Regions from separate parts of the Homo sapiens genome. Here all the other regions are linked to region 1. Evidence: promoter capture Hi-C in 16 types of primary human blood cells and fetal thymus (Javierre and others, 2016). All regions are on one chromosome and are shown on one strand. Each heading gives the region's core, a stretch centred on a gene start or on the middle of the fragment in contact. The rest is flanking DNA. Distances are from core to core; before and after follow the strand shown.

Evidence for each region. Contacts are between HindIII fragments. The CHiCAGO score rates a contact against its expected background, and 5 or more counts as called.
Region 2: a fragment that was not itself captured here is called in contact with the fragment with the promoter of UFM1 in region 1 in 2 of 17 cell types (total CD4 T cells and total B cells); the score reaches 9.1 in total CD4 T cells.
Region 3: the fragment with the promoter of TSC22D1 here is called in contact with the fragment with the promoter of UFM1 in region 1 in 5 of 17 cell types (naive CD8 T cells, total CD4 T cells, naive CD4 T cells and 2 more); the score reaches 8.7 in naive CD8 T cells.
Region 4: a fragment that was not itself captured here is called in contact with the fragment with the promoter of UFM1 in region 1 in 1 of 17 cell types (total CD4 T cells); the score reaches 8.8 in total CD4 T cells.
Region 5: a contact is called between a fragment that was not itself captured here and the fragment with the promoter of UFM1 in region 1, in 2 of 17 cell types (naive CD8 T cells and non-activated CD4 T cells). The highest score is 5.3, in naive CD8 T cells.

The regions. Positions count from the first base shown.
Region 1 is chr13:38,347,734-38,353,301 of GRCh38, forward strand. UFM1 (ubiquitin fold modifier 1) reads left to right here and starts at 2,118. Exons shown (of 6, transcript NM_016617.4): 1 at 2,118-2,188; 2 at 2,266-2,322. The coding sequence starts at 2,187. RefSeq lists silencers at 1,648-1,757, 2,455-2,669 and an enhancer at 1,868-2,077. The HindIII fragment of the contact is 2,541 bases long and covers 1,696-4,236 here.
Region 2 is chr13:44,911,802-44,917,369 of GRCh38, forward strand. The region is part of intron 1 of LOC107984619 (a long non-coding RNA gene); the gene reads right to left. Among named protein-coding and RNA genes, the nearest start is that of TRE-TTC2-1, 3.4 kb to the right of the region's middle. The HindIII fragment of the contact is 1,285 bases long and covers 2,708-3,992 here.
Region 3 is chr13:44,573,298-44,578,865 of GRCh38, forward strand. It overlaps TSC22D1 (TSC22 domain family member 1), which reads right to left and starts at 3,033. Exons shown (of 3, transcript NM_183422.4): 1 at 1-3,033. The coding sequence starts at 2,777. TSC22D1-AS1 (TSC22D1 antisense RNA 1) reads left to right here and starts at 2,599. Exons shown (of 3, transcript NR_038381.1): 1 at 2,599-2,973; 2 at 3,745-3,880; 3 at 4,805-5,568. RefSeq lists an enhancer at 2,506-2,745 and silencers at 3,066-3,775, 3,786-4,025, 4,296-4,495, 4,676-4,725. The HindIII fragment of the contact is 6,017 bases long and covers 1-5,568 here.
Region 4 is chr13:44,274,664-44,280,231 of GRCh38, forward strand. No RefSeq gene overlaps it. Among named protein-coding and RNA genes, the nearest start is that of MIR8079, 81 kb to the left of the region's middle. The HindIII fragment of the contact is 5,130 bases long and covers 1-4,760 here.
Region 5 is chr13:43,872,587-43,878,154 of GRCh38, forward strand. It overlaps CCDC122 (coiled-coil domain containing 122), which reads right to left. Exons shown (of 7, transcript NM_144974.5): 2 at 2,256-2,341. Among named protein-coding and RNA genes, the nearest start is that of CCDC122, 4.4 kb to the right of the region's middle. The HindIII fragment of the contact is 1,103 bases long and covers 2,549-3,651 here.

The DNA.
Region 1 (5,568 bases), core at 868-3,367:
CTAATTGGATCTTTTCCAAAACACATTAGGCCATTTATGCTATTTGTTGTCTTAAAATGTTCCATTGCCAATTATCTCCAAAAATTTGCTCCAGAGTTTGCTTCTGATTACAGCCATTAAACGTACTTCAACATTTTAACTTTTCAGTAAAAGAGAAGGTCCTTGTTTTGCTATAAAATTTTCCAATTGCAAATCCCTTCACAAAGTTAAAAAAATTGATTATAAATAAATCCATTTATAATTTCTTTCTTGTCCTAAGCAAAATAAAACTCAGGAGGCTGCAGAAATCATGCTGTGACTCTGAGGAGACAAACATGAGAAGCAGAGTTGGGGACTGAGGTGAAAAAGAATTCTAAATATTTAGAAACAGCTGCTTTTTAATATCTCAAGAGATGTTATTTTGATATATTATACAAATGTATTTTCTGAAGCAGCAGAATCTGAGTACTAAAGTCACACTGTGGGACTGAATTCTGTTTTCACCACTTTTTATACATACAATAAAAGCTCTCTGATTAATATCCATTTTTCTCTTTAGGATTTTGCCACGTTTTGATTCATGAGCAGAAACCAAACTATAAATAGCAGGATGCAAATTTTGTTTCAAAATATATTATATGTAGTCTTATAGACTGTAAATATGTACACTCATCTCTTTCATTATTATTTGGCTAGCTGACAATAGGTAGACACAATCACAGTTTTATCCTTATTACTATTCTCACAAGTTTTAGTCACACCCACTAATTGAATAGTTTCAGCTATTAAGGCTGTAACTGTTGATCCCTGTATCTGTCAATCAATATTTGGCTTCATCTACATATATGGTAAGACCATTATTTTAAAAAGTGAGGATGGCTGTCATGAGAATGTTGGAGTCTTACTTGCCTACTCAGAACCAGAACTCTCTCCACTGGGAAATGTCACCATAGAAGATCAGTTGGCTGCAAAATTATTGTAAAGATGAATTTGATCTCCATTATCCCTACTACAGTTCCTTCCTGGTTCCTCTCTTAAGTATCTCTCCTTAAGAATCTGATGCATATTCTAAAGATCAACTAGATTGCCCCATTATTTTAATGCCTACCTGCTTCCTCCTTTGTCTATTCATGCTAATGTTTTAAAAGGGCATTTCAGTCATTGTGAGACAGACGCATATTTTCCAAACACAGAGGTTTAGATCTGTAATAAAGTTTAGAGGACAATTTTCTTCCGTCATCACTACACAGGATGTTAGATCCTAGAGAGTTGACGCCTACCTGCCTTACTCATCTTGGATTCCCCAGAGTTTAGCTTAGCGCCGGGCAAATAGAAAGGGTTCAAAGTTGGTTGTTAAATTGAATAAATGTGGTCAGTGATTAGCAACTCAGCGCACTGGTTTAATTAGACCATATAACAAATTACTGAAATCTCCTGTTCATAGATGTGTCTTCCCAACTAGACGCCACGTTCCCCAAACGTAGAAACCTCATTTTTTCTCACCCACCCCAGCGGGAGTCTTGGCATAGATAATTCGTACTTGATAGCTCTCTTACTTAACCGAAATTCAATAGTTATAAATCAGTATCGGAAAGTAAAGCGTGAAGGAGAAACTATGAGAAATGTAAAGGATATAACAGGATTGGTTTGCTGGAAAGACGGAAGAAAACTAATGATAAAGCAGTGTTACAATTCCTGCTTCTGGAGCACCAATTAAGCTTTTCCGCGCTCAGGTTGCCTTAGAAACTTTAGAGCGCGTCCGCCCCAGCCCCGCCCCCGGCCTCGCCCCGAGCTTCGCCCCAAGTCCATCTCGCTCTTCATCCGACTACCCCATACCCTTACTTCCGCCCCAACCTGCCAACTGGAACCTAGGGTCCTACGCTCTATGCCCACGCTTATTCTGCCTGACTAAAAATATGGTAGCAAATTACCAAAGTTAGAAAGATATCTTATAAATATAATCCATACTTTTTTCTTAGATATATAAACGCAAAAGCACAAGATATTTGTAATTTAAAAGCGCCATCTAGCATGAGCTCTTAGGGCCAATTTTCAGGCAGTGCGTTGGATAGCAACAACTTCGGAGGTCCCCAGATTGCAGAGGGAGACGTGGACGTGAGTGGAGCGGGGCGGTCCCCAGCACACTAGAGGAAGTCGTGCTACCCCCGCGGAGTTGTCGTGTGTTCTGGATTCATTCCGGCACCACCATGTAAGTGTTTGCTTACCGACTGCCATAATTCCTGGTCCAGCTGCCCGACCCTGACTCTCTCCCGCTCTTTTCCTCAGGTCGAAGGTTTCCTTTAAGATCACGCTGACGTCGGACCCACGGCTGCCGTACAAAGTGTGAGTAGCTCGGCCGAGATGGGCCTTTTGGGGCCGGACAAGACGGGGCTGGGTTGGGGATGATCCGAGCTTTTCCAACAACTACCCCACGCAGTCTTCATCTCTTCACTTCATCTACTTTCCTGGCTCGCGCCCTTCCAGGAGCCTTTCCCACCGGAGCCTGCGAGGAGAGGTCCGTACTTGCTCGCTAAGTGTCAGCTTGGCAGCTTGGCCCCGTCACGAGGGTGTGGGTGTGTTTCTGATTAGTGACCTCCCCTCGGAATTCATTTGGTGGGCAGGTGGCGCGGGAGGACAGGTGGACCAGGTTCTGGTAATTTGTTGGGATTCTTAAACAGTCCCCATCTGCTGGATATTAGAAAAGCGTTTCACCGCTTTGGCCAGCTGGTTGAGGAAGTTAAGGAAGACATTCCATCTTGATAGTCAAGACTTTGAAATTACTTGAACATTTGTTATTCCGCGGCTTCTGAGTTTCGTTGTGTATGAGTAACTCAGCAGTCGGGCATCACAAAGTAATGAGACTCAGATCACACCCTTCCTATGCTGGGATTTAATAGAGTATTTGGTAGGAATGGGAAATGCAGATAGGGGATAGTTTATCCATGTGGGGCCTTTACTTATCCTTCGCAGTTGAGTGATAGATTTTAAGTAAACACTCTTGAGGTTATTGCAGTTGGAAGTAGCATGAAATGTAGCAAAGAACAGGATTACAATAGAATTTTTTGCATAATTAATTAGTACCTTGGCCTACCTAGCTGACTGATAAATTTCAATGATTTACCAATCCATGATCCGTACAACCTCTCAGCCTTTTCCTCCCTTGATCTTTTCATCTCCAAAATATCCCTGTTACACTTTATCTCAGGTGTTCATGGTTGCAGCCTAGAACCTTAAGATTCCAATAATTGCTCCATCTCTGAGATGTCGTTTACAGGCACTCTTATGGATAAATACATTCTCTCCTACATGATTTACTATAATTTCTCATCTACAACGTTTCATTTAATCCATTAATCACAGTGATTTTTTATCTGTAGCTATCCCCACTTCTATTCCTTACCTTACTCCTTATATAGTTAAGAGTCCATTGGTCCACCTTTAAATCATTCTCATGCAAACACCCTCAACTCTGGTGGCCCTGTCTCTCCTCTCAGCATATTTTGGTTAGTGAAACACCAACTCTGAAACCAGCTGTTTGTATTATCTGTACATAGCTGACTGCCCCTGGAGAAAATAACAGACTGGAGGGTTTACATTAAATTCATGACTACAATTAATAGTACCTAGTACTTAATACATTCTTCAAGTTTGCTCATTTTCCTCCTTATTCTCAGAAAAGATTGTTTAAAAATTTCAAACTTTCCACAGCTGCTGTCTCCCTTGCTATCAAGCCATCAGAGGGAAATTCTATCATCTTTACACCAATGTAAACCTACCACTACATGGATAAATCCGTTAATTTCCCATCCTGTTAGAATGGAAAAAATGACTTCACTCCTATGAAAAACCACTTGAGCTATAGTTCCCATCTATTTCAGTCTTGTCAAGGTTAAAGTAGATGGAGTCCAGTGCCCCCTCTCTCCTCATGATTGGTTTTTCCCTTTCTACTGGATTATTCTCATCAATATGCAAATGTACTCGAAAGAGAGCGTGAGAAGGAAGGAAGAAAATGATAGAGTAGGACAATAACATTAAGAGCCTGGAACATTGTACCAGTTCAGTTAATATGTGGTGACTGAATGAATTTAGTAGGTACAACTGTTGTTTAGTATGTATGTGTGCGTGTGTAGTTGTGTGTGTATGTGTATAAGGATGTGTGTGTGGAAAATTCACATAACGTGTAAATGTGTGTACAAGGGTATCTGTGCTATATTTTCTTTTCAAAGTACATGGTAACTAGTACTTGGGTACTTGACAAGCTTGCCCTTTTAATCTTTGCTTCCTTTACACATGTTCTTTTCTGTGCTTAGAATGCAGTCTCATGATCACAACATATTTTATAGTAATAAAAATCTCACCTCTATGAAGTTTGTTTTTTTTTCTTTCTTTCTTTTTTTTTTTTTTTTTGTGAAACAAAGTCTCGCTCTGTTGCCCAGGTTGGAGTGCAGTGGCACGATCTTGGCTCACTGCAACGCCCGCCTTCCCAGTTCTTCTCCTTCCTCAGCCTCCCAAATAGCTGGGACCACAGGTGTGTGCCACCTTGCCCAGCTAATTTTTTGTATTTTTAGTAGAGACGGGGTGTCACTGTGTTAGCCAGGATGGTTTCCATCTCCTGACCTCGTGATCTGCCCACCTCGGCCTCCCAAAGTTCTGGGATTATAGGCGTGAGCCACCCCTTCTGGCCAAAGATTTTTCTAATTGTCCACAGAGTTAATCTCGCCCTTCTTGAGTTACCTGTGGACTTAGTCTTTATAATAATTCTTACCAATTTATGTTATTATTTTGTTTATATATTTATTTAAAAAACAAATGATGCCAGTAATTTACTTCAAAAATTCTCATTAATGTAAATTTATTCAAAACACTGGGATAATTTAAGTACCGATTTTATGAAATGACTGGCAAATACAACTTTAAATCTAGATAAGATCTGTGGAGTCACTGTAACTCTCATTTTTTCTAATTTTCTGCCAGTTAGAACTTGCATTAAAAGATGTTTTCATTTTTGATTTGTTTTTATTGGCTTGTCTGTGGACACTCACCAACTTAATATACAGATAGAAACTTATTTTAATGAGCATCAGTATGACATCTAGGTATATTGTAAGGACATTTCCAAGTCTCCGATTTAAAAGTGAATTGAACTCCAAGGGTTTAGAAGTTCTCCAATTGATGCAGAGTTTTAGGAAAATGAATCTCAGATTCTTAACTACATATACACTGCAAAAATACTTTGTAAAATACTGTTGCCTAGTTTGTAAACTATGACATTGCCAGTTCGTTAGTTTTTAAACAAATGGCTATCCTTTATATGTTTTTATTTTTTTCCACCCCCCAAAAACATTAGTAAAGAAAGGGTAAAAATGATACCCATTTTCATCCTTTAATAGTATTTTGGAGTTGTGGAATGAGGGCAGCCAAGAAATCTATTCACATTTCTATTACTGAAAACTGGTACCATATGCTGTTCCTGTTATAATGATTCTTATAGTCAGAGATCTGTAGACTGAGTGAGGAGCCTGGGCATATACATGAGAATAATGGTAGCTGGTATTGAGACACTTAAGAACAATACAATAATATGGTGGA
Region 2 (5,568 bases), core at 2,100-4,599, 6.6 Mb after region 1:
ATAGCCTTAAAGCAAAGCATACTGTGATCTGGGTTAGTCCACAAGGAAAACTTTATTTTAGGACAAAATTGCCAAATTCTGAAAATGAGGGTTCTGGAATCCATCTCAAGAGACCTCTTAAAACAGTCTCATCTTCCTTCCAAGGTGTGGTTTGTGCTGACCACAGCAGAGCACCAGCCAGAAGGCCCTAGAGTCCAGAAGGTCCTCATCCAGGGGGTGGACCTCTCTCCACCCCTAAACCTCCAGAGCTTTCCCATCACATTTAGAATGAAATCCAACCCTCTTACCCTTTTTGTGTGTTTGTGCGTGTGCTATTTCCCACTACAGTGTAAATCTAGATAACTGCCAGCACATACTAGACACACTGTAAATGTTTGCTGAATACATGAATAGCCCAAATATAAAGAATATAGAAATGCTTATTTTTGCCAGCAAGATTTCATCTCTGGCTTAATTTTTTCTTAATTGAGATATAATTCAGATTCCATACAATTCAGTCTTTTACAATTCAGGGCTTTTTAGTATGTTTACAAAGTTGTGCAACCTTGTAAATATGGTAAATCACCACTCTTTATGTTAAACTACCACTATTTTAATTTCTCTGGCTTAACTTTAATACCAGTTCATCCTTCCTCTCTACCTTGTGGTTCTAATAGGAGCTGCCAATCATAATACCCCATATTCATCAACCCTAGGCAGGGCCCAGGGCCTAGGCGAGGTCACATTCCCCCAGCACTTTCCAACAGAAACTAAGAAAGACCTTCCTTCTCGGGTGGGGAAGCTGGGAGGAATGAGTACTGAGCCAGAGTGCCCAGATCCCTTGCCATGTGGAAGCAGTTGGTCCATGATAGCTAAGAATAAATCTGACACACAGAGAGAAAACACTGATTCTGATTGTCCCCAAGGCCAGCCATCCCATTCTACTTCACACAGTTTGGTTACATTAGCCAACAATCCTCCCCTAGTGGAGTTCCAATGGCTTTCTGTAACTTGAAACTTAAGGTATTCCAATCAATAAAGTCCTTGTCCTGCTCACACATCCTTCAACACATGCTTATTAAGTGTTTACTGTGTGCACGGCACTGGCCTTGGAGAGTAAAATCTAGCAGGGCCACAACAAGTGTGGTAAATGCAATGAGAGGGAAATGTGCAGAGAAAGCATCTCACCCACAGTCAGGGCAGAAATGACATCTAAGCTAGGACCTAACTTTAGAAAGGAGTAAGTATAGGAAGAGAAGTACACAAGATGCCATGGGAATCAGAAGCAACCAGCATCCACAGGAGAGGTAAGGGAAGCTATAGGAACCATGTGATGTTCGAATTGAGCCTTAAAGGATGGATAAGATGTAGATATTTAGAGAAAGGGCATAAGAGCGTCTCAAGTAGAAGAAAAATTGAGTAAAGGCCAGATACAGGAAACAGTGTGAAATTAACAGGAATCTAGGATACATGGAGGGAAGAGGTAGGAATTAGGCTGCAAAGGCAGATTGGGAGCACTCAGCAAGACAAAGCTCTTCGGGTTTAGGGCAGGGAAGCAGCATGTTCAGCTCTGCGCTGTAACAGCCAGGAGAATGCAAGATAGAGAAGATGGGCAAGATGGGGTCAGGGAAACCAGTGTGGTGCCTATTGCAATAGTCCAGAGAACAAGATGATTTAAACCAGCAGAGTGGCCAGGGAAGTAGATAAGAATATATGTGAGCATAACTGAAGAGGTAGAAATAAGATTTAATAAAATAATAAAATAAATAAATAGTAAAATAAAATAAGCTTTAATTAGACGTGGTGCGAGTGGAGGAGAAAGAGGGACTAAACATGCCAATGATGACAATGATGATGATGGTGATGATGATGACGGTGATGGCCTTAAACTGGGCTAAGCCTTTTATGCGCATTATGTCATTTAATCTTCACAACCCTATGAAGTAGGTCCCATTCTTATCCCCACGTTAGATTCTAGAAAACTGAGGAACAGAGAGATTAAGTAACTCAAACAAGGAGATCTTGGATGACACTAAAAAATAAGTAATCCAAGTAGAAAAGGACTTGGGAAGGAGAAAGAGGTCACTTTTGCACATACTGTGTTGAAGTTGCCTATTTGCATAAAGCTGAGCCCCCAACTTCAGTTTGACTGTATCCCTATGAAACAGGAATAGTCTTACCTACATTTTCTTTCTTTCTTTCTTTCTTTTTTTTTTTTTTTTTTTTTTTTTTTTGAAACAGAGTCTGGCTCTGTCTCCCAGGCTGGAGTGCAGTGGTGCGATTTCGGCTCACTACAACCTCTACCTTCCAGGCTGAAGCCATTCTCCCATCTCAGCCTCCTGAGTAGCTGGGACTACAGGCGTGCACCACCAGCTATTTTTTTGTGTTTTTTGTAGAGACGAGGGGCAGGAGGAAGCGATTTGTGTTTTTTGTAGAGACGGGCGGCGGGGAGGGGTAGAAGACGGTGCCGGGGTTGGGAGGGTGTCTCGCTTTTTTGCCCAAGCTGGCCTGGAACTCTTGAGCTCAAGCTATCCACCCACCTCGGCCTCCCAGAGTGCTAGGATTACAGACATGAGCCACCATGCCGGCCATACCTACATTTTCTTAATGAGTACACAACAAGTTGCAAAATCCCAAGCTTTCTTAAATCAGGATAGATTATGTTGATTGCTCCCCCATCTACCATGGCTGTCACTCTGCGACAAAAGGAAATTAGATTCATCTGATAAGCTTTGTTTTTCACAAAGTAATGTGGGATGATTACCCAGTGCCCTGTGGTCTTCTAGAAGTTTGCAAATTGATTTTTTGATTATTTGTTCCAGTGATTTTCCAAGTAGTCAGTGTTTTTCCAAGTTATTCAGCTTTACAGTGTGGGTGAGTTAAAATTCATATTTGCTTTCATATTAATATATGAAGTGTTAATGTAATTATTTAGGATATTTTTGCATGCGGCATCAGATATACTCTGAGGGAACATACATATGAATCTGCATGACTATAAATACACTTGTTGAGGGGCACAAAGCAATTTTCATGTGGAATCCATCAGAGTTTATGACTATATGCAAAAATGAAAGCATACAGGAACACATGGTTAGTTCAAATACCCCAAACAGGTTAAGCTCATCACTTTCTAGAAATGATTATATATGATGAATTTTTTTAAAAAAAAACTTCACGTAGAAAAATTACTACTATGTTTATGCAGCTATGCTGTGAACACTGACCAAAAATACAAGAGAATATTTTTTTGGCCAGGCACGGTGGCTCACGCCTGTAATCTCAGCACTTTGGGAGGCTGAGGCAGGCGGATCACTTGGGGTCAGGAATTCAAGATCAGCCTGGCCAACATGGTGAAATCCCATCTCTACTAAAAACATAAAACTTAGCTGGGTGCGGTGGCGCACACCTAAAATCCCAGCTAGTCAGGAGGCTGAGACCCGAGAATCGTTCCAACCCAGGAGTCAGAAATTGCAGTGAGCTGAGATCGCGCCACTGCACTCCAGTCTGGGTGACAGAGGGAGACCTTATCTCAAAATAAATAAATAAATAAATAAATAAATAAATAAATAAATAAATAAAAATAATTGAATCTTCTCTGCACTCAATCCCCCTAAGCCCCGCTCCTTGACGCCAGGATTTGGAGAGAGTGGTGTCTGGCTAGAGCACCAGACAGGAATTCAATCTTTTGTGGATACAATCTAAAGTCCAATACTAGGGAATCAGAGAAATAAAATCTCAGAATAGATGTTTCCCGGGTAAAACGAGGGTCTAAGTTAAACGACTGCTAAGGGCCTTTCCAGCTCAAATAGTCTATGAATCTAAAGACTATGAGGATGATGAATGGAAGTTATGGCAAAATGTTTTACAAAAAGGGAAAGCCATAAAAATGCCAAATATAACTGAAGTAACCATCTCCCCACAAAGTGAAACCCTTTCATATCATTAAGTACCTGTCTTCAGAAATATCTACTATGCTCTGAGTCCACCAAATATTACAGCCATCTCAAGAAAGCTTCTGTCAAATCCATGAGGTCAAAACTCTATTTTATGAAAATGAATGATTAATAGGATGAGTAGACATGACAGCCTTCATATAAATGGAATTCACCTGCCATCTGAAAGCAGTTTTGTCTTGCTTTTTGGAGACAGGATCTCACTAGCCCAGAATGGAGTGCAGCAGCAATCATAGCTCACTGCAGCCTCGAACTCCTGGCCTCAAGCGATCCTCCCACCTCAGCCTCTTGAGCAGCTAGGACTACAGGCACGCACCACTGCCTGGCAAATTTTTTTTTTTTTTTTATTTTTTTATTTTTGAGACGGTGTCTCCTTACGCTGTGCAGGCTGGTCTTGGTCTCCAATTCCTGCTCGAGTGATACTCCCACCTCGGCCTCACAAAGTGTTGGGATTATAGCCATGAGCCACTGCCCCTGGCCTAAAAACAAGTTTAAAACAAACAAAAACTACACAGCTTCTGCCTGGCAGCCCCCGGCATCAGCTATCCTCCCTGGCCTTGCCCCTTAGGCTCAGGAGCTGTGAGAGCTGCATTACCCCTTCTTGTTTCCCTAAACCCTAAGAAAAACTTAAATAATCCTTGATTAAGCACTCTGCTAAGAATATATCACGAGTTTCCTACAGGGCCGCGATTGATACAGGGATAATAATATCATCTGAGAGTAAAATAATCTAAAATAATAATCAAAAAATAAAAATAGGCCCGGTGCGGTGGCTCACGCCTGTAATCCCAGCACTTTGGGAAGCCGAGGTGGGTGGATCACCTGAGGTCAGGAGTTCTAGACCAGCCTGACCAACATGGGGAAACCCCATCTCTATTAAAAATACAAGATTAGCTGGGCATGGTGGTGGGCCCCTGTAACCCCAGCTACTCGGGAGGCTGAGGCAGCAGACTCGCCGGAATCCGGGAGGCAGAGGTTGCAGTGAGCCGAGATCGTGCCATTGCACTCCAGCCTGGGGGACAAGAGCGAGATCATGCCTGTAATCCCAGCACTTTGGGAGGCCAAGGCAGGGGGATCACGAGGTCAGGAGATCGAGACCATCCTGGCTAACACGGTGAAACCCCGTCTCTACTAAAAAATACAAGAAATGAGCCGGGCGTGGTGGCGGGCGCCTGTAGTCCCAGCTACTCGGGAGGCTGAGGCAGGAGAATGGCGTGAACCCGGGAGGCGGAGCTTGCAGTGAGCCGAGATCGCGCCACTGCACTGCAGCCCGTGCGACATAACTAGACTCCGTCTCAAAAAACAAACAAAAAAAATTATAGTCTTTATTTTAGTCTTTAAATATAGTCTTCATTTTAGATAATCTCATCTAATAACAAAGGGATGCATTTATTTGCATAACAATTGGAAACTGTCACAAGTCAATACTAAGACTTCTAATTCTAATCTAGCATATCACAAATTCTTAAAGTTTTTTTAAAACAATGTGTCAAATAAATATATCAAGAGTAAAATGTTTTGGTTTCGTTTTGTTTTGTTTTGTTTTGCCATCGGCTGGAGCCTCAGTATTTGTTATAACCTAATTTTCTTCCCCGCCTTCCAAACTGGTTTAGTTAACTCTCTGCATCACAAA
Region 3 (5,568 bases), core at 1,783-4,282, 6.2 Mb after region 1:
TGAGGTAAGCCAACTAAGGAGGGCTCCGCTGCACGCCTGGCATCTTCAATTTGGCTTCCAATTGCCTGAGCTAATGATTGTGCGGAGAACTGGGTAGAACTTAGTGGTATCTGTTGTGCCAAAGGCAAATTTGTATTAGTTGCTATCAAGGGAGGTTGACTAACACTTTGAACCAAATTACCATTTTGGGTAGCAGGGGTTTGTGCTATATTTTGTGGTGGAACCAAGTTTGTTGGGGCAGAAGGCATTCCAGAAGGACCAGTTGAACTAACCTGACTTGTAACAGAAATACTACTAGCAGAGGGCAAAGAACTAACTGCAGGCAACTGCTGTGAAACAATTCCTTGAGCTACTGGTTCTACTCCTTGTGGCTGGGGAGGCACAGTTAACAAGGAACTTTGGGATGCAATAACCAATTGTTGAGGAAGGCTTGGAGCACTAGTTTGAACTCCCTGATGAATAATCCCAGTTTGAGCAGGTGGAACCACTTGCGAAGATGGAGGAGCACCCTGCTGAATAACTGAAGGTGGAACCTGGGTAGAGGGCTGCTGCACTGCAGTAGGTATGTTTGCTTGCTGACCAATATTTGCAATCTGACTGCCAGTAGGTACAGCAGACACTGCTGCCGGAGCCTGGCCAACAGGCTGGACAGATGCCCCTGCAGGTTGTGCTGGGACTGCTGTGGGCTGCACTGGCAGCTGGATACCCTGTGGCTGAGCCACAGGAATCACTGTTGTTCCTGCTCCTACTCCTGCAGAACTGGGCTGTCCGGAGGACATTGCTGTTTGAAGAATTGGCTGCTGTTGTACATACTCTGAAGCAGGATTTTGAGTCACTGATTTGACATGGCCTGGGGCCATCTGTGTAGAAACCATTGGTTGCTGTTGTCCATACTGTAACTGTTGGGGTGGTGGTGCCCCTGGAAGGGGAGTTTGCACTGGAGGAGCCGCCTGAGAATATGGTAGCTGGGGTTGAGCCAAACTGGAAATGGAAGGCTGCTGACCTAAAGCTGAAGTTACACCAACCACATTTACAGGCGATGGCTGGATACCAGTTGCAGCACTCATAGTGGCTTGCAGAGGTACTGGCTGAAGACCTTGCTTTTGCTGATAGCTCAGTTCTTGAGACTGTAATTGTACTTGTGAGATCTGTGACTGAGAAATACTCTGTGGTATACTAACTGCTGGAATACTCTGTGGACCAGTGCTACCAAAATCCATCTGTTGGAGGGTCACACCTTGGAGAGCTGGTTGTTGCTGTTGTTGTTGTTGTTGCTGCTGCTGCTGCTGCACCACCACAGTAGGGGCTCCCATCTCTCCACTTCCCACACTCTCTGTATAGTGACTCAGTGTGCTGACACTACTGCTCACTGAACTCCCACTAGTGCTCTCCCTTTCAGAAGTCACTTCTATCGGATTTTGCTTTACAGTCTCCACCACTTTATTTATCAGCACACCTTCTGTAGCAGGTACAGCATTTTCTTTTTCATAGAACTCAGTGCAAGTCCATCTACCTTTTTTAAAGGGCTCAGAACTAGAATCTAACTTCACAACTCTGAACCTCGAAGTGTTAACTGTTGGTTGTTGCTGCTGACTTGAAACCGATCCCCCAGTCATCCCTGCAGCTGCATTAGGAACACTGCTAACAGCAGCAGAGGAAGAAATAGTACCATTGCCCATGCCACTCAAGATATTCACATTAACACCACTGGTAACTCCAGGCCCAACACTCACACCAGCAGCACTAGGAATATTGCTTGTACTTATATTAACATTACCAAGCATGCTGCTTGTCACATTAGGATTAAAACTACCCACAGCAGTAATGTTAACATTATTTACTGTACTAGTGCCAGTAACAGAATTTATACCTATTCCACCTGTAGTACTTGGAGCACGCATATTAGTCATTACAGATGCAGGTGAACCACTGGATGATACAGCAGAAGTTGGTGCAACTGGTGTGATACTGTCAGAGCTTCCAGTTGTAGAGAGTTTTCTAGATACTGGGCTTGAGGGTGGCCCACCAGTAATGGATGCACTGGCCACAGCAACATGAGATGGATGGTGGTGACCATGTTGGAGGTGGTGCCCATGATGAATCTGATGGTGGTGATGGAGGTGGTGTGGATGAGCATTCCCATTGATCACAACATTCTGTTGTGGAAGGTGAGGCAAATGAGGCTGAGGAAGGTGGGGCTGGTTGGGAGAGACTGCCCCAGGTGTCTCGGCTTCCTGGAAGTTATTTAGGGTCTCTTCTGAGGAGCTGCGTTCGGGCTCCCCTAAGTCAGTAGCCCTGGAAAGTGACACATCAAGGATCTCCGAAGAAGAGAGATCTTCCGTGTGAGATTCATCCAGATCATCATAGCTCTCAGTGTCCTCTGCTATACTGTTGTTAGAGCTGATACTAGCGGAGATCTGAGCAGGAGTAACGCTAGTTATCTGGAAGCCACTTTTCTTTTTCATTTGAGTTCCGCCTGGCGCAAGAGGCTGTGCCTGCAGCTGAGCCTGCGAAAGGAGGTTCAGGCTTTGTGGAGGCGGAGGCTGTGGTCCCGACGTAGAAGATGCTGCAGGGGGCGGCGGCTGAAGCAGCGACGGAGGCGGAAAATCCTCGGAAGATGTGGCATTACTACCGACGCCGGTACCTGCTGCATTGAGAGCAGAGGCGCTGCCACTACCGCTGCCCCTTCGAGGGAACATTGCCGGGTGCGCCATCTTCCTAGCGCTAATGTCTGCAGCGGCGGCGGCCGCGGCGGTGGACTCAGGCGGCTGGTGCATTGTGTTGGGTACCGGGGGCGCGGAGGAGACGAGTGCAATTTCCTTCTGCACCGTAATCTTTGTATTGGAGACGCCGGAGAGGAAAACGGGACCTGACGCTCCGCCTGGCGCGATTCCTCCTTCTCCTCCTCCTCAGCCAAAGGCGCCGGTCGCTCCTGCCTTCGAGAGCGAGCTTCGGAAAGGAGGATGAACGAGGGTGAACAGGGCGGCCGGGGACCCGAAGGGGGGATCCCTTCAGTCCTTCGCCATTCACTTTCCCCTCTAGCCTCACACCCCCCTTTATATTCTGCTTCACGTGGGGTGCGGGGCAGGAGGGAGGGGGAGAGCGCAGGAAGGGGAGGAAAAGCGAGAAATGCCCACCTTCTCCGGCCAACTCCGAAGCCGCCTCAGCCCCCTCCTCCCGCCGCGTCGGCGGCCGCTGCAAAGCCCTCCCGGCCGCTCTGCACGGAGGCAGCGCCAAGCAAATGTCGCCTTCCCCTCGCCACCCCCGGGGCCGCCGCCGCCGCCAGCGAGCCCCGAGCTCAGTGTCGCTCAAACCTCCCCTCCCGGCCCCGCTCGGCCCTCCCCCCGCGCCCCGCAGACCCTTTCAAACCCCCTGGGCTCGCGGCGGCTGCTCGGTGAGGAAACGCTGGCCGCGGCTGGGGCCGGGGCGACGCGGCTGCGAGCGGGGCGGCGGCGAGGCGCCCGGTACGGTGAGCCCAGCAACGAGGCGCGGGCGGGCGCGCAGAGACGCCGGGTCCTCGCGGAGCACGGCCGGGGCGCGGCGGCGGCGGTGGCAGCGGGAGCCCAGGGACCGCTCCATCACTGGCAGCCATGGAGCCCGAGCATTTTCCTCCCTCAGGGCAGGCGCCTCGACTCGGCACACGTCCTCGGGGAGGAAGGGGCCGGCACCCGAGCCTCTCCGGAGGGCGGCGGGACGTGCGCTAGGGCGGAGGGTGCGACCCTCTCTTATCCTCTTCCTCCGCAGCCGGCTCTTCCTCACCCCGCTGCTCCCGCGACCGGGCGGGAGAGGGCCGCAGGCGGCGGCGGCTCCTTTCTCCGCGGCGTTGGTGGCCAGACGGGCTGGTGCAGCGACTGCAGCCGACGCCGTTCAAAGGAACGAGGTGGGGTTGGTCGGTGTCGGCAAACGGGGCGGGGGAGTGAGTGGGTGCCGAGGGAGGGTGTCGGGCGGGGAGGGGGCTGTGGTGGTTGTTACTAGTGCTCTTCTTCGGCTCCCCCGGCTCCACCGTATCCCCCAGTCTCTCGCGGCATCGGGAGGGGAGGGACCAGCGCGGAGCGCAGGAGGAGGAGGGGCGACCGCCGGCGAGAGGAGGCGGTGGTGGCTGGGGGGAGGGGGCAGGCGGAGGAGGAGGAGGGAAGATGGCGTCTGCGCATGCGCCTCGGCGCCGCAGACATAAAGCCGGGTCTGGCGGGGCAGGAGGCGGCGGGTCTTCGGGCCTAGGCGAGCGCCAGGTCTCCCGACGGAAATTACCGAAGGCTGGCAGAGGCGCCGAAGCCGGGAGTGGTGGAGCCGGAGGGGATAGTGGGGGTGGGGAATTCCGGCCGAAGGAGCGAATCCGGGTCGGACTGCGTGATTCGGCCCGGTGGGGGCGGGCAGGGTGCGCGCCTGCCGCGCGCCCAGGTTAGGTGTGTCCGCTCTTTTCACACTCGCGGCCGGCGCGCGCGGGCACGCGGCAGAGGAGGGGGCGCGGCGCGGAAGGGCCGGCGGAGGCGGCGGGAGCGCCGGCGCTTGGTGTGCGCGCCTTGGGTGGTGTCCCCCGCCTGCGGAATGGGTAATGAGGCTTTTCTCCGCAGCAACAGCATCACGAGTTTCAGTTCCCAGGAGCCCGCCGCCGCGGCTGCTGCCGCTGCCACGACATGAGTCAGGCTTTCTTCCCTGGCGCGTGGCGGAAACCTCCTCCCCCTCGCCGCACCTGGGCTCGCCCCCGGCCCTTGCCTCCTCGGGGGATGCCCTAGGGCCGGGAGCTGTGGGGTCTATGGAAGGCCGGTGGCTCCCGGTGATAGGTGTTGTCTTTTGTGCAGTGCAGTTGCTGCCATGCGGTCCCCTCGCCCTTCCACGGGCAGGGGCGAGGCGGCCGGGCAGATGTTGCAGCTGTTTCCAGTTAACTGCCTGAGCTCCTCTGGGCTAGGCTCTTCTCTAACGAGGAGTGGTTGCAATCCATCCTTAACTGGAGGACAGAAGCAGGCCGGCCCTGTAATCGACTGACCTCAACAGGTGTCTCCAAGCAGCGACGCCTTTTTCGTTCATCGTCCTGGCTATATCCCCCATTGGTTTGACTCAGGAGGCAAGGTGGTCCGGACATGTGAGCAACACAAATGATAAGAATGCCTTTTAGGGCTAGAAAAGAAAAAGCCATCCGAAATTCCAGTTTTAAAATACACACACACACACACGTTACATTTCATGGGTCCAAATGTAGTTCTACAGAAGCAATGTTAGGTTTGATTGGGGGCAATTTACTGGCGGTTACTTTCTTGGTATTTCATGTCAAAACCTAGTTCTAAGCGTTTCTTACCAATAATCGAGAATGTAAGTCTTTCCCAGGAATTTAAAAATGATAAAGCAAGCCGAAAAACTGTAGGGAGGAATTTTCATTTTGTTAAATTTAGGTTGTTAGGGGAATCAACGCTTATGGTTAGACCTCTGATTCAGGAAGTCTCAAGGATTTACATTCCTATTTCAGAAGATTGTTAAAGCAAAAACGATTGTCATTTGCAGTTTTGATACACCTCTAGTTGTCAGTTCAACTTTTTACCTTTAGTTTTCTCTGAACTCTTCCCCTTGTTCCAA
Region 4 (5,568 bases), core at 946-3,445, 5.9 Mb after region 1:
GCCTTATAAAATTATTAATTTAACCAATCCCTAAAGTCATGAAGTATTAAGTGACAAGTTGTCTAGCTACAATAGTATGAGTCAACTACTGCATATTCCACTCTATTTTAACATTGAAGCCTAAGATGATTTAGGCTAACAAAGTCATTTTCCAAACAAATCTAAAAATCAAATCTTCATACAAGAAAAGAGGGAGAAGCACCAGACTTTAACCCCAAATGGCAGCCAGTCTTTATGAGATTCTGTTACAGGGTCTGTAAAACTCTGAGCCAGCTGCATGGAAAGGACCCAGGACCACTCACACTGACTGATGTGGTCTTTGAAAATGTGCCAGCAAGGCTTACAGAGAAGGAAACCAGAGCTTTTCAGAACTCAGCTCCTCTGCACAGCGACACAGTGAGATGGACAAGGGCTGCTCTACTGAATTTGCAAATGTGAATTTAACCCACTTATGAAAACAGTACCGGGCATGGCTATATCACTTATCAGCTCATCAAGTTTGTTCTGGAGGGGAAGCAGTTTTGTGTGGCCCCACTATCAGGCACCAGCCTCATAAAGAAGCAAGCAGCACAAATCCTAAATTCTGTGGTGTTTAATGGAGGCCATGTCAACACAACAGCGGGAAAGAGAGGGACTCTCTACCAACCGGTATACTAAGACATAATCTAGAGGCCAAAGGACTCCAGATAAATTACCCATTGCCCAAAACAAAAGGAAGTCTTTTGATAAGAGAAATATTTACACCTGGGGAGTAAGCCATGGTCCCAGGAAGAAAATGTCTTAAAATGAACTTTGCATCTATTTAGTTTTGCATTTTCAGTCCCCAAATACCCCATCACTGTTTTCCTGTTTTCTTTTTCTCTCCCATGAGCTCACTATCCCTTTGCAAATTTAGGGGAAATAGGACTGCTGTTGACTCTGCAGCTGCAAAAAAAAAAAAAAAAAAACTTGCTAAGTGGAAGAAACCATTTAAAAAGGGCCACATACTGTATGATTCCATCTACATGTTACATATTTATAGCTGTCCCTCAGTTCTTGGATTTTCTGGTCTAATTTTTTCCATCTTTTTCTTTCCAGTTTGGAAGTTTCTGTTGAGATATCCTCAAGCAATTCTTTCCTCAGCCTTATCTAGTCTACCAATGAGCCCATCAAAGACATTTGTTATTTCTGTTGAAGTGTTTTTGAAGCATTTTCTCTTGTTTCTTGGAATTCCCATCTCCTGGGTTACATTGCCTTATCTGTTCTTGCTCTCTGTCTACTTATCCAGTAGAGTCAAATATTAATCATATTTGTTTTAAATTCCTGATCTAATAATTCCAACATCTCTGCCACATGTGAGTCTGGTTCTGAGGCTTGCTCTGGCTCTTCAAACTGTGTTTTTTTCAGTTTTAGTATGCCTGGTAATATTTTTTTTTTAACTTAATTTTCTTGATAGCTGGGTATGATATACTGGGTAAAAGGAACTGCTGTAAACAGGCCTTTAATAATGTGGTGGCGAGGTGTGGGGAGGGGAAGTAATCTGTAGTCCTATAATTAGGTCTTAATTTAGTGAGCCTCTGCCTGCGAACTGTGAACTTCACAGGTGTTCTCAGCCCAGCCCCCTTTAGGCGGGACAAGATGGCTACAGTGGGCTGGAGTTGGGTGTTTCCCATCCTCTAAGTCAGTTAGGGTCTGATAAACCCCAATAGTTTATGCTCTGGTAAAACAGTTTCTCCTGAGTGCAGACCTTGTTAAGAACAGAATGTTCTGTTGTATTTTAAAATGGTTCCTTTTCCCAATCTCCTGCTGAATGAATGAGAAGATTTTTCTCTGATAGTCACTGTGAGAACCTGGTTGAGCCCCAGAAGTTAAAACTCACAGAAGTATGCAGAACCCCTATGACCCAGTCGTCCTGGAGTTTTTCACTCTGAGACTTGTCCATACTGAGCCGCCAGCAATTTGTTGGTTATAGTTCCAGTTTTAACTACTTCAGCGCTGTTCCCTGTGGAGGGTTCTTCTCCTGGTTTCAGCTTCTGTAAGTTGTGATTCTCCGTGTCTACCTGTCTGCCTCTACAATTTAGAGGACAGCAGTTTGCCCTGTGATCTCAATTCTCTGATGGATCTAAAGAGTTGTGGATGTTTCCGTTTGTTCAGCTTTTTATTCCTTAGGATGGAGTGGTGACTTCCAAACTCCTTACATGCCTAACCAGAAACTGTAAGTCCCAATTCCATCTCTAAGAAATGTCCAGAATAGGTAAATCCACAGAGACAAAAAAAAATTTGGTTGTTTAGGGCTGGAAGGATAGGAGGTTGAGGGATAATAGCTAAAGGGTACAAGGTTTCTTCTGGAAGTGATAAAAATATAATAAAATTTATTATGATGATGGTTGCCCAACTTTGTGAATATAAATCCATCAAATTGTACACTTTAAATGGGTAAAATGTATGGTATGTGAATTATAATGCTGAACAAAGGAAGGAAGAAAGAAAGGAAAAGACGGAGGGAAAGGAAGAAAGAGAGATGGAAGGGAAGGAAAGAAGGGGAAGGGAAAGAGGGAGGGAAAGGAAGAAAGAGAGAAGGAAGGGAAGGGAAGAAGGGGTAGGGAAGGGGAAGGAAAAGGAAGGGAAGAGGAGGAGAGGCGAGAGGAGGGAAAGGGGAGGGAGGGGAAGGGAGGGTAACGGAAGGGAAGGGGAGAGGAGGGGAAAGGGAGGGGAAGGGAAGGGAGGGGAAGGGATGGAAAGGGAGGAAAGGGAGGAAAGGGGAAGGAAGTGAAGGGGAGAGGAGGGGAAAGGGAGGGGAAGGGAAGGGAGGGGAAGGGAAGGGAGGGGAAGGGAGGGGAAGGGAGGGAAGGGGAGGAAAGGGGAAGGAAGTGAAGGGGAGGGAAGGGGAGGGAAGTGAAGGGGAGGGAAGGGAAAGGGAAGGGAGGGAAGAGGAAAGAAGGGGAGAGGAGGGGAGGGGAGGGGAAAGGAAATGGGGAAGCAAAGCACCATAGCCCAAAGATAGAAGGAGTGGTATACAGTTGTGTCTGCATGGCCTGAAGTCTCTGAGCCTCTTCAGGATCTTCAGCCTCCTTCCCTCTAGTGTGAGATTCCACCACCCTCCCCCTCCCATAACATACACATACACGCACCAAAACCTTTGTTCCAGGCATCTCAAACAATTTGTATTTCCACCCAAACTCTATGCAGTTCCATTCCTCTGAGCTTTTACACAAACTCTTCTCTCTACCTTGAATGCCTACCCTACCCCATTTCCTACCAAGAGAATTCTCACTCAACTTTCAAGACCCAGTTTAAATGTCACACCCTTCAGGATGTCTATCCCTACCTCCTCAGATAGTTAGGGGGCTCCTCCTCGTCACCTGCAGAAGGCTTTACTGTACAGTATGTCACCATATGAGAAGGTAGAACATCTGTCACAATGCACTTAGGCCTATTTAGATGCATATCATCCCCAACAATACCACAGGCTCATGAAGGACAAATGCTGTATTTTATTCATCTTGGTGTTGAAAAAACTTGGAACTGTGGCTGTCGTATAAAAGATATCTAGTAAATATTTGCCAAATGAACAAATAGCAGACAGGCATCATGCCTCTGTGACACAGGTCATGGAAAGTTAACAGAAATTGTTCCTGTTTGCAGAAATATTTGCAAGTAGAAACATCAATGGTTTCACAAAATGTCTGTGTACCCAAGTTTCTGCCCCAAATCGGAAGCCATTTCAACTTGGCTCCTGCACAGGATGTGACTTCCTGCCCAGAGAGCTCCAAAGGCCCCTCGTGCTGCTTGGGCAGGATCCAAATCTCAACAGAGAATGCAACACGAAAGGCAGAGTATATATGTTACAGAGAGACAAACAGCAGATGTGCAGAGCAAGCCTTGGGGTCATGAGCAAAATAGGAAGACAGCAGTTTGCAGCATGTTTTCTAGGGATGCCAAACTCCGTAGAAACTACTGATCAGAATTGTGTTTGAAGTTAAATATGAGCATTTCCTGATGTCAAGTCTAGAAGTTTCTGTACACAAAACAAGCATCCTGCATGAAAGAGTCTGTCAACCCTAGCTCTGACCAGAAGGGACAAGGAGAGTATGAAGCACAGAAGATGATCCACCAAGCCTGGGAGAAGAGGCTAAGAAGTTGAGGAGTGCCAGTTTCTCCATGAACAGGAACAGGAGCTATTATTTATTTTTGCATATTTTTATGAATTTATGTTGAAGACAATGGGTAGAATTCCTGAATGTAGTTCCTGTCATTTGCAATAAGTCATTTTTTTGGGCCTTGTAAAGTCCAAAAGTAAAGATCTCCTCCAGGTCAGATCAAATATAGATAGAGCCTGTTGACCCCCCTGTGATGGTTAGGGCTTCTCACACTGAAAGCTGTGGGAGCTATAAAGAGAAAAAAGGCATCCCTGACCTTCAGTGTTAATGTGAATTAACCTTACTATACTGCTACTTAAAAATATACCAACATAAATCTGGGTATAAACTCTTCATGCTGACAGCTCTGATATAACTTGAAAAGTAACACAAACTCACAAATTAAATGAAAAACAAACCTTCAAAGGTCAATAAAATTCAAATCAACCACATTAAGCTAATAACACCAGTAATGTTATTTTGTTGAAACTAATTTGCAACACACATACCATGCTGACATTGTTAAGATGTTGGCATTTTTGAGTGTGGCATGCCTATGCTACCCCGTGCTGTGGGATGACTCAATTCTCCCACCACTTTCCTCAGTTTAATTTGGTGCTACACCTCCCTCCATTCATGCCAAGCTTCAAGATGTCACTTGCCCTTCATTGGAGGGAATACAACCATACATGTGAGCACTGAAATTGTACCTGCATACTAGCGATAACTTGGTCACCCCGTTGCTTCAATTATTGCATTAAATATATAATTTTAAGTCATATTTATAAGGTTAAGCTAAAATAAGATTATAAAATTTGCATCGAGATTCTGTGGATCCCAGTTTGAGAAACATGCTGTTAGACCAGCCATCACCCCTGAGAGCATTCCCCTATCTCTTTAACCAGTTTAATCAACGTTTGTGCCAAAGGAAAGAAAAACTCACCCCAGGACAATGCCAGTATTTAAAACACAGAGATAGATACTTTCACAACGGGTTGTCCTCTGTAAGTCATAGATGGAGGGAAGAATTCCCAGGAAGGCGAAGGTCAGAAGAAGACCCAACTCCCTCCTCAATAAGCCCTCCCCAGGGCAACTGATCTTCCTGGCTTGAAACCCCCTCACCTGATCCCGCTCTGGCTGGCCATGTGTGGCTGTGTCTCCAGGAAGTCCAAGCTACCAGTTAACAAAGCTCTGTCAATCCGTGAATTGTTTTACCAAGGGCTTGTTTTGCCTTATTTTGTGTTTTTGTTTTTTAATAGTGGTAAAATACACATAACATAAAATTGACCATCTTAATCATTTTTCACTCTTCATTTCCCCCTCCATCGTGGCAACCACCATACTTATTTTTGTCTCGATGAATTTGACTACTCTAGGTGCCTCATATACGTGAAATCATGTGGTATTTGTCCTTTTATGACTGGCTTATTTCCTTTAGCATAGTGTCCTC
Region 5 (5,568 bases), core at 1,850-4,349, 5.5 Mb after region 1:
TAAATTACCCATCTACCAGATTTTGTACCTGCACCTGTATATCAGCATACTGTTTTCTTGCAATAAATAGTGTTCTTGCTCCTATCTAAGGCCAATCCTCTACTTTTGTACTCCTTTCTCACAGACATTACTTCTTTGAATGGTCCCTCAACAGAATTTCCCCATTTACTTGGTCAAACGTATTATTCTGAACAGCCCATCATAAATCAACAACCACTACCACCACCAACCTTGCTTGACACCATAACCTCCTTCAGTACTGACCCATTTCTTTGCTCCCCTTTAAAGCCAAGATCTTTGGTCTCCACTTCCTCTCCTCTTTCTTCTTGAACCCACTAGAACCAGTCATTTATCACTGTACTTTTAAAACTTTTATCACGGTATCTATGAGCTCCACATTGCCACATTCAATGAACAAGTTCCGTCTTCATTTTACTTGACCTATTGGCATCATTTAACACATTTGATAATTACTGCCTTCTTGAAATACCATACTTCTTGGTTTCCTTTGCTGGTCCCTTCTCATCTTTTTCACTTATGTCACACCTCCTAGTGCTCGGTCCTCAGGCTTCCTTCTTTTCTCATACTTATTCTACATGTGATGCCATCTAGTTCTATGGCTTTAAAATCCACCTATAGGCTGACAATTCCCAAATTATATCTCTACCCTGAACATCCCTTTTGAGCTGTAGACTCATACTCATTGCCTACCTGATAACTCCATTTGGATTTTTAATAGGCATTTCAACTCAATATATCACAAACTGAACTTTTGATTCCTCTGTCCACTCTATTACCACCATTAAACCTGCACCTTCATAGTCTTCTCTATCTCAGTAAATTATAAGTTCATTTTTCTTGTTGTTCAGGCCAAAAACCCTGAGTTCATTAGCAGGGAGGTCTCTACAAGGATATAGAGCCCAAGGCAATTCAACTAGACTTGCCCAAGGCAATAATAAAGGAGATCTTATTGTTGATGTTTCATAGGCCCTTTGAGAAATCCTTAACACTCCAAGGCTGCTGCCCCGATTGACCTACCCAAAGGATGAGCCAGAACCTTCACTCTTTTTCCATTACAAGCTGCATGCAGTTCTTTTGGCAAAGCCCATTGGCTCTACCTTTAAATTATACTGGAATCCAATCACTCCTTACCAATTCCAAATACTATCTTAGTAGAGAAGCCTTCCCTGATAACTCTCTTTCACCCTTGCCCTGCCTCATTTTTCTTGACAGCATCTATTACCACCGACATCTCATACACGTCTTTTCCATATCCTTCTACTAATGTAAGCTCCATGATGGCAGATGTCTAGAAGTGCCTGGCATATAACAGGTGTCTAATTATAGTCTATCTCCACTCCAGTTTGCCCTTTTCTAACAGAATAATGCTCCAAAAGCACTATTCTGATCACGTCAACATCACAGCCAATCTTTCAATTCCATTTAGATGGCATTTTCTTTAGGAGGTCTTTCTCGATCTTTCTGGGAAGATATGGTCTTTCTCTTTTTAGAAGAATTGTTTCAGTATTTCTATTATACCATTTTAGATAAAGGTATAGGTCTAGAGTAAGACAGAGCTAGTTTTAAATCTAGATTGCACTACTTATTAGCTTATTAGGAAAATTATTTCCAACCTGGGCCACAGATTCCTTACTTATAAAATGGGAACAATATTAGTGCCTGCTTCATTAGGGTTATTGTGAAGACTAAATGAAATAATGCATGTAAAGCATTTAGCAAATTCCTGTCACACAATGAATAATCAACATATTTTTATTTTTATTATTTTCATTATTTTATAGTATCTTTCCCCATTAGAGTGTAAGCACCGGGAAGACAAATACAGTGTTTTATTTATTTTTGTATTCCTTAAAGTATTTGATAAAGTAACCTAAAGAATAAAGAAAATTGGATTTATACAATAAAAATAAAGTAACTAGTACTTCTTGATCTCTATTTCTATAGCAACATAAATTGAAGAACTCTTGGATAATATTTATTTAAACCAAATATTCATAAAATTCATGCTGTAAAATTGGAAAAGTTTTAGTTTTTTTTCCCCAGACTTCTGTTGTGCAATGAAAAGAAAAATGAAAACAAACTACTGCCATCTACCGATAATTCATTAGAATTGCATAAATTAAGGAAACAGGCTTTAGAGACAACTCTTTTCAAACATGTTTTTAAGAGAAGTTAGAACATCATCAGAGACATCCAAAAAGAATTAATTGAATAATTAAAAATAAACTGTATACCTATTATACACCAGTACCGCTGAATCTGCTGACACTAGGGATTACTTCCTTTTCTGGCCAGGCAATGAGATTAGAGTTTCAGGGCACTGAAAAAGAAAGAAAACAGAGGGTTTGTACTGTTCCTTACCTCCTTATCCAAGATAATAATAGGCAACATTCATACATTATCCACACTGCTTCTAGGTTTCTACCAAAGGAGGGGCTTTGCTGAATGTATAGACAGTACTGGACTACCAAAACATCTCTTGTTTTGGAGTGTAGACATTAAGGGGTTGGTCTGCAGCTCAAATCCAAGCTTTAAAGGATGTCCAGGCAACTGTTTCGAAAAGATTTCTACCTCTGGGACAGAAGTTATATAGACCTTTGGTGAAATCCAGTTATAACCTACCTGCTTGTCTCATTCAGAGAGGCAAGGGGCAAGGTCTTTTATTTCCTCCCCCTCTAAACAAGTAAACATGATTTCCAAACCAAGAGGAACTTTATAGTGGGTTAAATAGTGCCCTCCCGCACATCCAAAGATATATCCACGTCCTAACTCCCAGAACATGTAAATGTGACCTTATTTTGAAAAAGGAGTTTTGCAGATTTAACTGGGTTAAAGATCTTGAGATGAGATCATCCTGGATTTAGGGTAGGTGACTGAATATGCAAATGGACAATGGCCAGACCATATGTAAAAACAGAACTCTGACCCACAACCTGCAGCAAGCAACCCAGGAGACTAACCCATTATCTACAGTAACCAGTCCAGGAAGTCTATAAATTAGACTTGTAGAAAGTTAAATCATTATCTCTAATAACAATCCTAGGAGACAAACTATAACAATTGTCCCAAATGACCAGTACTGGATTAATAACTGGCATCTTCCCTAACTTTTGTCCCCATTTCCAAGTTGAGACTAACAAAAAGAAGCCATAGAATGCTCCACTTCTAGTTAGCCTGCCTGCAGCTTCCTCATGCTGAGAGCCTCTAATCAGGGCATGCCCACTCCTCTGCCTGCCTTCAACTTTGCTAAAATGCAGGAGATTGTGGCTCCCTCCCTTACAAGGCCTGAATAAATAGCTTTTGCTTGTTCTCATTTGATTGATCTTCATTTATTTCTACACAAGAATCCTTATAAGAGAAAGGTAGAGGGCTACTTGAGACTCAGACCCACATGGAATAAGACCATTTGACGATGGAGGCATGGAGCTTGAAGTCACTTAGCCCCTAGGCAAAGAACACCTGAAGTCACCAGACAACAGAAGAGGTAAGTGAACCACCAAAATGTGCAAGGTGCTGTCAACACCTCAGTTTCATCATCTGGCCTCCGTAACTGTGAGAGAACAAGTTTTTGTTGTTTTTAGTCACCCAGTTAGTGCCAATTTGTTATGCTAGCCCTAGGAAACTAACAGAAGCTTTTAGCAAGGAAATTTGCATCTGCTACATGGCTTTTTCTGGAAAGATCCATAAACCTTAGTGTAAATGGCTTAAAAACAACTGTTTTGTTCTTTAAAATTATACTTGTTCTCATGAGAAGATTTACATAGCATTATAAAAATGTCTGGTGAGTTCTTCAATAGTTCCCTTAATAGCCAGGCACTATCTCTGCCCTCAAAACACTCTAGGCAGAAAGACACACAGTCAATTAAAATGGAGAGGCGCAGCAGCTTATGTCTAAGCCTATCTACACATAACCTCTAACCACTTAACTCACTCTATTACCTTTGTAAGTCATAAGTGACTAATTCCCATATCATGCTAGGAAACTGTTAACTAGTAAATCTGCCTATTTCTGCTCCTATCAATTGACTAGTTCAATCTTATGACTTACTTGTGTTTGTTTGCAAACCTGTTTTTGCCAGTTGTGCTTGATATTGTGCTTTCGTAACTTAATATTGTATAAACCAATGAAATAGTGTGGAAATTGTTGTTTCTTTAAAAATCTATGTTTAATATTTTGGAAAGACCCAACAAAAGTATGTGAGATTAACTGTAAAAGATTATAAAATATAGCGGTGGCTCATGCCTGTAATCCCAGCACTTTGGGAGGCTGAGGCAGGCAGATCAAGAGAGGTCAGGAGTTCGAGACCATCCTGGCCAACATGGTGAAACCCCGTCTCTACTAAAAATACAAAAATTAGCCGGGCGTGGTGGTGCACGCCTGTAATCCTAGCTACTTGGGAGGCTAAGGCAGGAGAATCACTTGAACCCTGTGGAGGCTGCAGTGAGCCGAGATCGCACCACTGTACTACAGCCTGGCGACAGAGCGAGACTTCATCTCAAAAAAGAAAAAAATTACAAAGTATAAATCTGCCCTCAGATTGCTTCACAGGTGCCTTTAAGTTATTTTCCCCTTAAAAGAACAAAATCTTGGGAAATCTTAGCTGATGGTTTATGGGTACGGTTTATGCAAGAGATAGTATGCAGAATTCCAATCAGTAGACTACATGCAAAGAAAAGGTCTTGGATCTTCTCAATAGATGGGCAAATGAACACACAGTTGTTTTAGGTTAGAATACAGTTTAAGGTATTTGTTATATTTTTTCATGATTCTGTGGTTTAACTGACCTTTTTTCTTATAAAAAAAGCCTTTTTTAGATATAATTTACATACCACAAAGTACATCCTTATAAAGTGTACAATTCAATATTTAACCATTTTTTCCACTTATTTCTTGGCTAGGGGCCCAGACTACATCTATGAGAGGGCTTCTTCATATGAACAAAATGTAAAGAAGCTATTAATTTTGCTTGATGAGGGATGGGGATTCAGGGAAGATTATGTTTGAGCTTGAAGAGCCTTGAACAAAAAGTAGCAGTTAGGCATATAAAAAGGAGGGTATTTTGCTAAGTAGAGGAACTGCAAATGTAAAGAATGAAATCATGTGGCCTCCAAAGAACAGCTTTTATTTGAGTGGCTTGGGAATAGGGTGTTTTTATTTTTTCAAACTTAATTATGCATCTAACTCATACATAGAGGTTAAAACAAAACAAAAAAGCAAAGCAAAACATGCTCAGGCCTAACTCCTAGAGATTCTGATTCAATGTATATTTGGGATAGAGTCTCTACATTAATTATTTTTTTTTTCAGTTGCACTTGCAGTTCTGATTTGCAGCCAAGACTGAGAACCACTGGAGTAGGATAGAGTGAAAATGGGATGAGGAAGTGTTAGGACATGACACTAGGACCAGATGGTGAAAGGAAATGGTATGCAAATACAATATAACAAACTCTCTTCCCTGACAACTTCATTCTTTTGAAATATTTTCTTTTTCATTTTTTTTTTACTGCCACTACTTTTGCATGAAAGAATACGAATCCCACCATTGT